Linked DNA regions of Homo sapiens: region 2 is linked to region 1. The links are contacts of gene promoters, found by promoter capture Hi-C in blood cells and fetal thymus (Javierre and others, 2016). All regions are on one chromosome and are shown on one strand. Each heading gives the region's core, a stretch centred on a gene start or on the middle of the fragment in contact. The rest is flanking DNA. Distances are from core to core; before and after follow the strand shown.

Region 1 (4,616 bases), core at 960-3,459:
AAACCTCCAGAAGCAACCTCCTGACTCAAAGATTAAGGAAACAGTCAAGCCAACGAAGAACCAGCCGTCGGGGCGGGGAGAAAAACAACAAAATTAAGCAATGAAAGGTTTCCAGGTCAGGAACACCTGGGGATAAGAACAGGAGCCTGCACCCAGGTAAGCAGAGAGTGATGTCTGGTTTTGTTTAGAGAGGAGACTCTTTGAATAGGGGGGAAATACTAACGGGATTGGCAGAAGAATGGGGATTACTTGGGAGCATTAGAGACTGGATGGATTAATTCAGACCCAGGCATTCACTCTCTGTGACAATCATCTACAAATGGAAACAGCTGGATTGTGGCTCTACTGCTATTGCTTAAACATTGCTTATATTCTTGGGTCTTTCTTGAGGATAACTGAAAGAGCCGCAAGGTGCCATAGAAATGACCTAGGACCATCCTTTTATTTGACAGATGTGATGCCTTGAATCCTGCCCAGGAGAGACTCTGCTTTCACTAGGGTCATCCGAGGCAGGCAGGCAGGCAGGCAGGCGGGCAGGCAGGCAGGTATGTCTAGGCGCTCTAGGTAGAAGGCTCTGTTCCGAAGACTGTGACCTTAGGACAGGCACAAGGCTGCAGGGGATGGTAGCAATGGCCCAGAGCCTACTTTCCTTGGGACACACACACACACACACACACACACAGTATTAAAAGAATTTGTTCAAGTTGATTGATGAAGAATCAAATAAAAATAAAAAAGAACTTGTACATGAAAATGGGTAGTGGGGTCTGGGAGCGGTGGCTTAGGCCTGAAATCCCAGCACTTTGGGAGGCTGAAGCGGGCAGATCACCTGAGCTCAGAAGTTTGAGACCAGCCTGGCCAAAACAGCGAAACCCCATCTCTACCAAAAATACAAAAATTAGCTGGGTGTGGTGGCTAACGCCTGTAATCCCAGCTATACAGGAGGCTGAGACACGAGAATCACTTGAACCTGGGAGGTGGAGGTTGCAGTGAGCCAAGACCGTGCCACTGCACTCCAGCCTGGGTGACAGAGTGAGACCCTGTCTCAAAAAACAACAACAACAACAACAAGGTAGTGGGTAAAAAACAAGTTTGATAAACCTAGTTTTCCCTCTTTCTAATAATACCAGTTTATTTCTATAACATGCTAACAGAGAGGAGTTTGTTTGCTGGAGAAAGCGCATAATGAGCTTTTTCTGTGTGTGTGTGTGTGTGTGTGTGTGTGTGTTTTGAGACAGTGTCTAGCTCTGTCACCCAGGCTGTAGTGCAGTGGCCTGATCATAGCTCACTGCAGCCATGAACTCTGGGGCTCAAGTGATCCTCCCACCTCAGCCTCCCAGTACCTGGGACTACAGGCGCGCACCACCATGCCCAGCTAATTTTTGTATTTTTTGTAGAGATGGAGTCTCCCTATGTTGCCCAGGCTGGCCTCAAAGTCCTGGGCTCAAGTGATCCGCCCGCCTCGGCCTCCCAAAGTGCTGGGATTACAGGCTACAGCCACCGTACCCAGCCATGAGCTTTTGGTTCTAACCTGCAACCCCGGGAGAAGGGGAAATTTAGCAGAAGACATGGGAACACAAACCACAATGCCACTTTCTTGTTTGGTAAAATTGTATGCAGAATGGATAATAACAAACATCCGCCTCTCAACTTTATCCCTCCCTCTCATCTCGTTTTCCTTGTCCGTATATGGCACTTCTGCGATTCTGGCAACTTTGTTATGGGTCAGTGGAGCACACCCGTTGCACAGAACACACCTAAGGGCTTTGTCTCTTTGAGAAGTCCCTCCCTTGAACTTGCACGATCGAAAGCTCTTAACTGAAAAAAACTGGTATTGCACGCCTGTGTGCAAGGAGCTTGGTGTGGACACAGCCCACGGTTTCATGCAAACCACTCTTCAGTCACTCAGGAGCCCAGAGCCTCGCAGAGACAGGGGTCAAGACAGAGGGCGACCGCGCGCTGGGTCCCGGGGCCAGCTCTGCTCTCCCTTCCCGGGCTCGGGGCCAGACCCTCCCACCCACCGACCACAGGAAGGGTGAAGACCCCAACCCGCGGGATCCGGGCCCCGCGCGCCCGAGGCAGGCGTGCGGGCGACGTAGCAGCGCACCCCGCCCCGCCCCAGCGTACGTGGCGGGGGCGCGCACGCACGCAGGCGCGGGGGCGCGCAGGGCCGGGCCGGCACGGCGGCGGGCGCGCGCGCGGCTCGGAGAGGCGGCGGCAGCGGCGGAAGCGGCGAGGGCGGCGGGCGTCCGGCTCTGAGGTGGTGGAGGCGGCGGAGGCGGCGGCGGAGGCGGCGGCGGCTCGGGACTGGGCTCGGCTGGAAGCAGCGAGGGTCAGAGCGCCGCAGCAAGCGCCGATCTCCCGGCTCGACCATCCGCCTGCCGCCCGGACGCCTGGGCCGCGGAGTTTGTGTCCCGGCTCGGACCCCGGCGCCCAGCCCGGAGCCGTAACCTTGAGGCGGCGGCGGCGGGGCCGGGCCGGGCCGGGCTGGGGGGCGGTGGCGCTGGATCCGCGGCTGCCCGATCGTTGGCGGGAGATGTCGAACCCCGGGACACGCAGGAACGGCTCCAGCATCAAGATCCGTCTGACAGGTACGGCCGGCGGGAGGCCCACCCGCGCCCCGGCGCCCCCTCGCCCGCCCCGGAATTCCCCGCAGGGCGCCCTTGGAAGCGGCCCTCCCCCACGCCGGCCGTTGTCCCAGGACCTCGTCACCCCCTTCGGCGTGCGCCCCTCGCTTCTCCCTCCTGGCCCCGCCCCCTCGCCGTTGCCCGGCCCCGCCCCCTGGCCGCTCGCGCCCCCTCGGTCTCGCGTTCCCTCCCGTTCCCCCGCACCTGCCCCCTCGCATCTCCGTCCTGGCCCCGCCCCTCTCATTTCCATTCATGGCCACGCCCCTTGCATCTCCTTCCCTGGCCCCGCCCCTCGCTTCTCTTTTCCTGGCCCCGCCCCTTGCATCTCCTTCCAGGCCCTTTCCCCTCACCTCTCCCCGGCTCGGCCCCTTGCCTCTCGCTTCCCTTCCTCTCCCTAGCACCTGACCCCTCGCTTCTCCCCCCAGGCCCCGCCCCCTTGCCTTTCACCTCCATCCCTGTGGTCCTTTCTCTTCCCCACCTTTCCTCCCCAAACCTGACCCCGCCCATCTCTCTGGCCCCACCCCCTCGCTCCTCTCTGCTCCCGCCTCCTAACTTTCTGTCCCCGCCCCCTCGCTTCTCCCTGCGTCCAGCTCCCTCGCTTCTCTCTGGTCCCGCCTCCTCACTTCTTTCCTAGCCTGGGCCCTCACTTCTTCCTGGTCCCGCCTCCTCACTTCTTTCCTAGCATCGGCCCTCACTTCTTCCTGGTCCCGCCCCCTTGCTTCTCTCCTTTTTTTCTCCTCCGCCGTTTTTACCCCCTCCCTCCTTCTCCTCGCTTCCCATCCTCTCCGCCCACCTGCCCCCTCGCTTTTCCCTCCTGGCCTTGCCTCTGTTCCCCTGGTCCCATCCCTCACTTCTCACCACTTTCCCATCATCTCTCTTGCTTTCCTGTTTTCCCTCCCACCTGCTCCCTCCCCTCATCCTCCTGGTCTTTCCCACCACTTCCAAGCTATTTTGCTACCTCCCCTTCCACTTGCCCCCTTGCTTCTCCCCTCCTGCCCCCACCCACCCTCTTCTCACTCCCCCATCCTCTTTCGTTTCTCCCTCACCCCCCCACACCGTCCTCCTCCCTTCTTCCCCTAGCCCCGCCCCTCACTTTCAAGCCCCGCCCTCATTCCTGCCTAGCCCCGCCCCCTCGCTGCTGTCTGGCGAGGCCTCCACCCTTTCTTTCCTTCAGCCTGAAATTCCTCAATCCTATCTTGTAGCTGCTCCCAGTCCTGCTCTCTTCACTTCCCCCTGGTCCAGCCCTCTTCAGTCTCAGTCTGGGCCACTTCCTGTCTCTTAGGCCAGACCGCTAGCTACTTTTAACTCTGCTTCTTCAATTTTTACCTTTTCTGCATTTTGTTTCACCATCACCCCCACACTCAGCAACCCAGAGCGCCGTGAGGCTCTGATCCCTACTCCCACACTCACTGGAGGCTTTGGAAGCTGCCCACACGCAGGCTCCTTGATTCATTTTGTCTTCAATGAAAAGTCCGTGTTTCCTGGGTGGCTCTGTAGTGCCACCTTCAAGGGTGAGCGCAACGCTCTGCCGCGGGCCTGCGACTTGGTGGCGCGGATGTGATGCCAACCTGTTTCCCCCCGGGCTCCAGAGGTTCTGGACCAGGCTGCATCCTCGTCTTCCCTTTCTCACTCTCATTGGTACTACTCTCTTTCCAGTTTCAATTCATCCCTAAAGCAGGATGGCCGTGTTGCAAATGCGGCTCTGCTCCGGGACTTTCCAAACTCGAATATTTCCAGCTCTGGAAGGAAACTAAAAAGTTCATTCTAATCCCCGTCAGGGATTTTCCCCTGGATTTTTCTGTTCAGTGGCTCAGTCGGGTGAGAACTCCAAAGTCCTGGTTTGGTCAGGTCCTTTCAAAGAGAGAATGAGCGTTTTGAACACTTTATGGCAGATGCGCAGCCATAAAGTCATCGGTAAAATCCATGCAAACAATAGGTAATTTTTTTAAACTAAAATTTACTTTGAGAGCCCATAGTTGTTGCATGGCC
Region 2 (4,780 bases), core at 606-3,105, 4.0 Mb before region 1:
CTCCCAAAGTGCTGGAATTACAGGCGTGAGCCACTGCGCCCAGCTTTTTTTTTTTTTTTGGGGAAATGGGGTCTTCTCTGTTGCCCAGGCTGGAGTGTAGTGGCGTGATCACAGCTCACTGCGGCCTTGATCTCCCAGGCTCAATCGATCCTCCCACCTCAGCCTCTGGAGTAGCTGGGACCACAAGGGCGGGCCATCAAGGCTGGCTACTTTTTTTTTTTTTTAATTATTATTTGTAGAGATGAAGTCTCGCTATGTTGCCCAAGTTGGTCTCCAACTCCTGGGCTCTAAGGATTCTCCTGCCTTGCCCTCCCAAAGTGCCGGGATTACTTCTCCGTTGCTTAGTCAAGAACACTATGAAGAACTTTTGAGTAGTAACTTCAACTTACCCTTTGGGTTTGTATGTATGCTGTTACTTTTTTTTTTTTCTTCTGTTGCACAAAGGTATTATTCACCTTATGCAGTTTCAGCTCCACCCAGGTGCAAGCAGCTCTTAATCACCCTTAAGTTCAGCAGCCACTCTAAGCTAGCCTGAGGAGATAAAGTCCACACTTGACATACAGTTCTTTACATTCCTCCAATGTCACACAGGCACATTCACTTTCAAAATGCAGAATAGTTTGGTCTGCATTTTTCTGCCAGTCTTATCTGCATTTAGAACCTGTGGTGGTGGTTTCTTTTTTGCCAAGATAACCCCAGGGACAAGCTTTTTTTTTTTTTTTTGACCCTGGCACACCCCAGGACTTTTATAATCTTTTTGCCCAACAACCCATTGTTGAATTTTACTTCGACATGCCTGTACTTTACTTCTTGAAACAACTAATTTCATTCTGCAGTTTAAAAAGCAAATCCAGTAAGAAACTCAGAATCACAATCGTATGCTCTTTCATAGTTATCCTAGCGTTAAAAAAGATGCAAATTTAGATGAGAACCGTGTGTACCAGGGGGCTGTGACATCATTTTAAAAGTAAACGATCACACAGTGAACAATGCCGTGCTCCCATTAATATTCAATACGTACTGTACAACATTTCAAATTAGAGTTTAGTTTCTTCGCTACCAGGATCCTAGCGCCATAGGCTGTAAGTATTCAAATGCTTCTCGACTGTGATTGAGTTGGCTATGACAGTCCGTCAATGGGTCTGCAGGATCCCATTTAGTTTTAGCAACTGTGGCTGGTGTCCAGGAATGCGTTCATGCGATCTGAAAGTAAGCCTCTGGCTTAGGACAGCGGGGGGAACCAATTTGATCTTAGGAGGGTCCCTGCAGAGTGTTTGAGTCGCGAGGCGGGCCGGGGCAGGCCGCGTGCTCCCAGGCGCTTCCTTTACCAAGATGGCTTCGGCGCCCCGGCCCACAGGGGCGGCCATCTTGGTAAGGGCTGGAGAGGCAGCCTGAAGGAGGCCACCGCTGGCCCTGCTGTCAGATTCGAAGGTCATAATAAGGGAGTGACCCGGCGACGACTCGCCCCAACGATGGCGAGGCGGCGAGAGCTGAAGCGCTGCCTGCAGCTGCTGGCGTCCTCGGCGGAGCCAGCGCGGCGGGCTCGGGTTAGGAAGAACCCGAGCGCCTGCCGCGGTCGCCCCTCCCGCTACGCGGCGGCGCTTTGCGCGGGGACTCTGTGGCCGGAAGCCGCGGAACTGAGGCGGCGCGCGCTCCCGGCCACCCCAAGCGCGAGGTGAGTCCGCACCCCCGCGCTCGCACCCCGCCGCTCTGGCCGCGCGCCCGCGGCCCGGGATCCCGAGTGTCCGGAGCTCCGTGGTTTCTGTTGGACCTCGCGGGAGGCGGTTTTCTCCCGCCTGCTGTGCTCTGTGACCTCTCTGCTGCCTCCTCCACGGTCTCTGGGCGGAGCAATCCACACTGCTGAGCCTGGGGTGGTTTGGAATTCTTCGGCGAAGTGGAGCGGGCTGAGAGTGGGTTTCCCGTCCCCGAGCCCTCCCTCATCTCGGAGATGCCGCACTTGTGAGCGACAGGGCTTCATTTGAATTTTCGCACCTCGCGAGTTGCGGAGCCTGCATCTCTGAAGCTGCCTCGGTGAAGAGCCACAGCATTATTTTTTTTCTCTTTGGGAGAGTAGCTGTCTGGGATTTGAGATCCTATCTTCCCTGCAAATTACCAGGTTGCATCTTCACTGATAGGAATACATGTGGGTTTATCTTCTTTTGGTTGTATGTAAATGAATGGGTCGACAACTTCCTCCGAGCAACTTATTGTTGCTTCATCTATAGTGTTTATCTTCTAAAAATCCATTCCAACAGGTTTCTCCCCTTTTATTTTGGAATAAGTGTACTTATTTAACTATGGAATGGAAATGAAGAGCAAAAAAAAAAATGGGGCTAGCTGGGGAGGGGTGGTGGAAGGCTGTGCTTTCTTGAGTTTTCTGTTCTGTGGTTGTTTGCTTCTTATAAATTGGGTATTATTGTGGGCTTTTCAGAACACGTATTCAGATAGGTTTTTGTTGTTGTTGTTTTGTTTGTTTGTTTTTTCCTTTTTTTTTTTTTTCAAGCTAGAGCTCGATATGGTAGATACTCTTCCATGGGTTCCGGGATCACATGCATTCATTATACGTCAGTTAAACCTGGAAAATATTAAGGGAGTGAGTAAAGTTTAACAGCCTTTTAAAAAGTCATTTAGTTCTTGTCTTTGCCTTTACTGTACGTTGTTATATATACATGTTATAATATGACTGACTCACCTGGTTGGCTTTGGCTTAGCATGAAATGTTTGCTACTTGATAATTCTGATTAATTTGTCCAGGAAGTCATTCCTGAGATGCAGTTCTTCAAATTGAGAAATAATTCCCATGTTTGTTAAAAAATGGAAATCTCTAACATTTCCATTTCTATTTTCAGTTACATTGGTTATGAATTAGCCGCAGACATGGACATCGTTTAGAAAGAAGTTATGTAATCTTTAAAAAGAAGATTACCTATATCCCACAATAGTGTGATTTTTGTTGCAAGAAAATACTGGGTCTGTTAAAGAAGAAATTTAGGGTAAAAGTACTTATTTAAAATAATAATTTAAGGAGAGATTGAGGGGTTAAATTTGTTTCAAGTCAACTGAAAATATAGTCAGGATTTTCAGAGATTTTGTTTTGTTAACATTCTGCAGGCTTTCCTGCTACAAGAATTATGGTAAGTCTCCAAGAGATAAAAATACTTAGTGTATTTCTCATACCCTTATTTTCACTCAGAATTCCAAATTATATTGTAGAAATTCTATGTTACAAAATTCTAATTTTAAAATTAGTCCAGTTATAACTATATGAAGAACATTTTAGCATAAGCATTCCATCACAGGGTTTTGGTTATACTTTAGTTGATACAGTCATTCTTGTGTTTGTTCGAAAGGGGTATTATGTTACTTTGAGTATTTGTGAGTTTGGTAAACTGAGAGGATTTTTATGAACATTTAGTCTGTGTTTGGAAAAGCAGTATTTGCCTTTAATTTTGTTGTTTCATTCTGCTTTTTCTTTGTGGTGATGGATAGCTGTGGATATAGTGAGTTTTTCCATTGCTTTCTACACTTTGTAAATAAGAATATAGCTATAGCTGGAGGACTGTTGATCTGGGCTTTTTAGGTTGAAATGCATACACATAAAAAGTGTTTTCATTGAAGTATTATTAGGGAAATGAACTGTATGTATAATTAATCGTTAAAGAGCACTTTTATTCTGGAGGCCAGTGAGGGCATGCATAAAACTGGCATTAAAATATCACCCATGTGATTTCCAGCATAAGATTCAAGTAATATTTCATTCTAACGCCTATACTACTGAATAATTCTGTCTACAATTTATAGTGCTTTGCTTGATTTGTCTTTTGAATTTATTAACCATTTATTGTGTATTTAAGTATTTTACTAACAGACTTTGGAGACAGATTGCATACGAACTCATATATCCCCAGGGGCAGTTTTATGTTAGAGATAGTCTTCTGCAACCTCAGCTGGTTAAATAATGTATTATAACTTTATCATTTACAAAGCTCTTTCAAATATTTTAAATATATGTATATATATAGAGAGAGTTTGATTTTATAGACATAAAATATGAGCCTTGTTCCACAGATGAGGAAAATAGGACACCAAGAGCCTGGGAGAGTCTGGTGATTTGGCCAAGGAACCTTAGCTCAGCAGCCCCAGCCTTCAGCAGAATATATACACTGCAGACTCTTGTTACAGCGGGGTTCCAATGAAGCGAAAGTGGAGGGGTGTGGATTAGCAAGCGTTGGTCAGCAACACACTCACAGATTGCACCCCTGCCTGTGGGTAACAGGTTGTGAATGGCCAGTGCTGTTGGCTCTGGAGGCACAGGTCTGGCATGTAGATGGATCAGCATAATTCAAAATCTTGATTGAAAAACAACTCAGTTTGTGCCTGCTACCTGGAACAATCCATTTTTCCCCTTGAAGGTGCAGACTCTTGTGTTTATCTAATTTGGGCACCTTCCCAGATTAAGGGACAGTAATATATTGATTTAACACTGAATGCCTGTAGGCTTCTGCGTGATTTTGTAATCTCTCTCAATTACAAGAATGAATAGAGAAACACCAAGCTTTCTCATTGTCACTAGCACTCTTGAACTGGTCACATCTTTTTTTTTTTTTTTGAGACGGAGTCTCGCTCTGTCACCCAAGCTAGCGTGCGGTGGGGCAATCTCGGCTGACTGCAACCTGTGCCTCGTGTGTTCAAGCGATACTCATGCCTCAGCCTCCTGAGAAGTTGGAATTACAGGCATGTGCCACCACACCCAGCTAAAACTGGTCACATCTTAATAGGA

What was found. Contacts are between HindIII fragments. The CHiCAGO score rates a contact against its expected background, and 5 or more counts as called.
Region 2: the fragment with the promoter of NAPEPLD here is called in contact with the fragment with the promoter of SMURF1 in region 1 in 1 of 17 cell types (fetal thymus); the score reaches 5.5 in fetal thymus.

Annotation. Positions count from the first base shown.
Region 1 is chr7:99,141,701-99,146,316 of GRCh38, reverse strand. SMURF1 (SMAD specific E3 ubiquitin protein ligase 1) reads left to right here and starts at 2,209. Exons shown (of 18, transcript NM_181349.3): 1 at 2,209-2,591. The coding sequence starts at 2,537. It also overlaps a transcript of KPNA7 not described here. RefSeq lists silencers at 1,948-2,447, 2,588-2,917, 2,978-3,027. The HindIII fragment of the contact is 8,132 bases long and covers 1-4,616 here.
Region 2 is chr7:103,146,174-103,150,953 of GRCh38, reverse strand. It overlaps NAPEPLD (N-acyl phosphatidylethanolamine phospholipase D), which reads left to right and starts at 1,855. Exons shown (of 5, transcript NM_001122838.3): 1 at 1,855-2,143. LOC105375434 reads right to left here. Exons shown (of 3, transcript XM_047421168.1): 2 at 390-1,936. The coding sequence ends at 1,134. The HindIII fragment of the contact is 3,849 bases long and covers 709-4,557 here.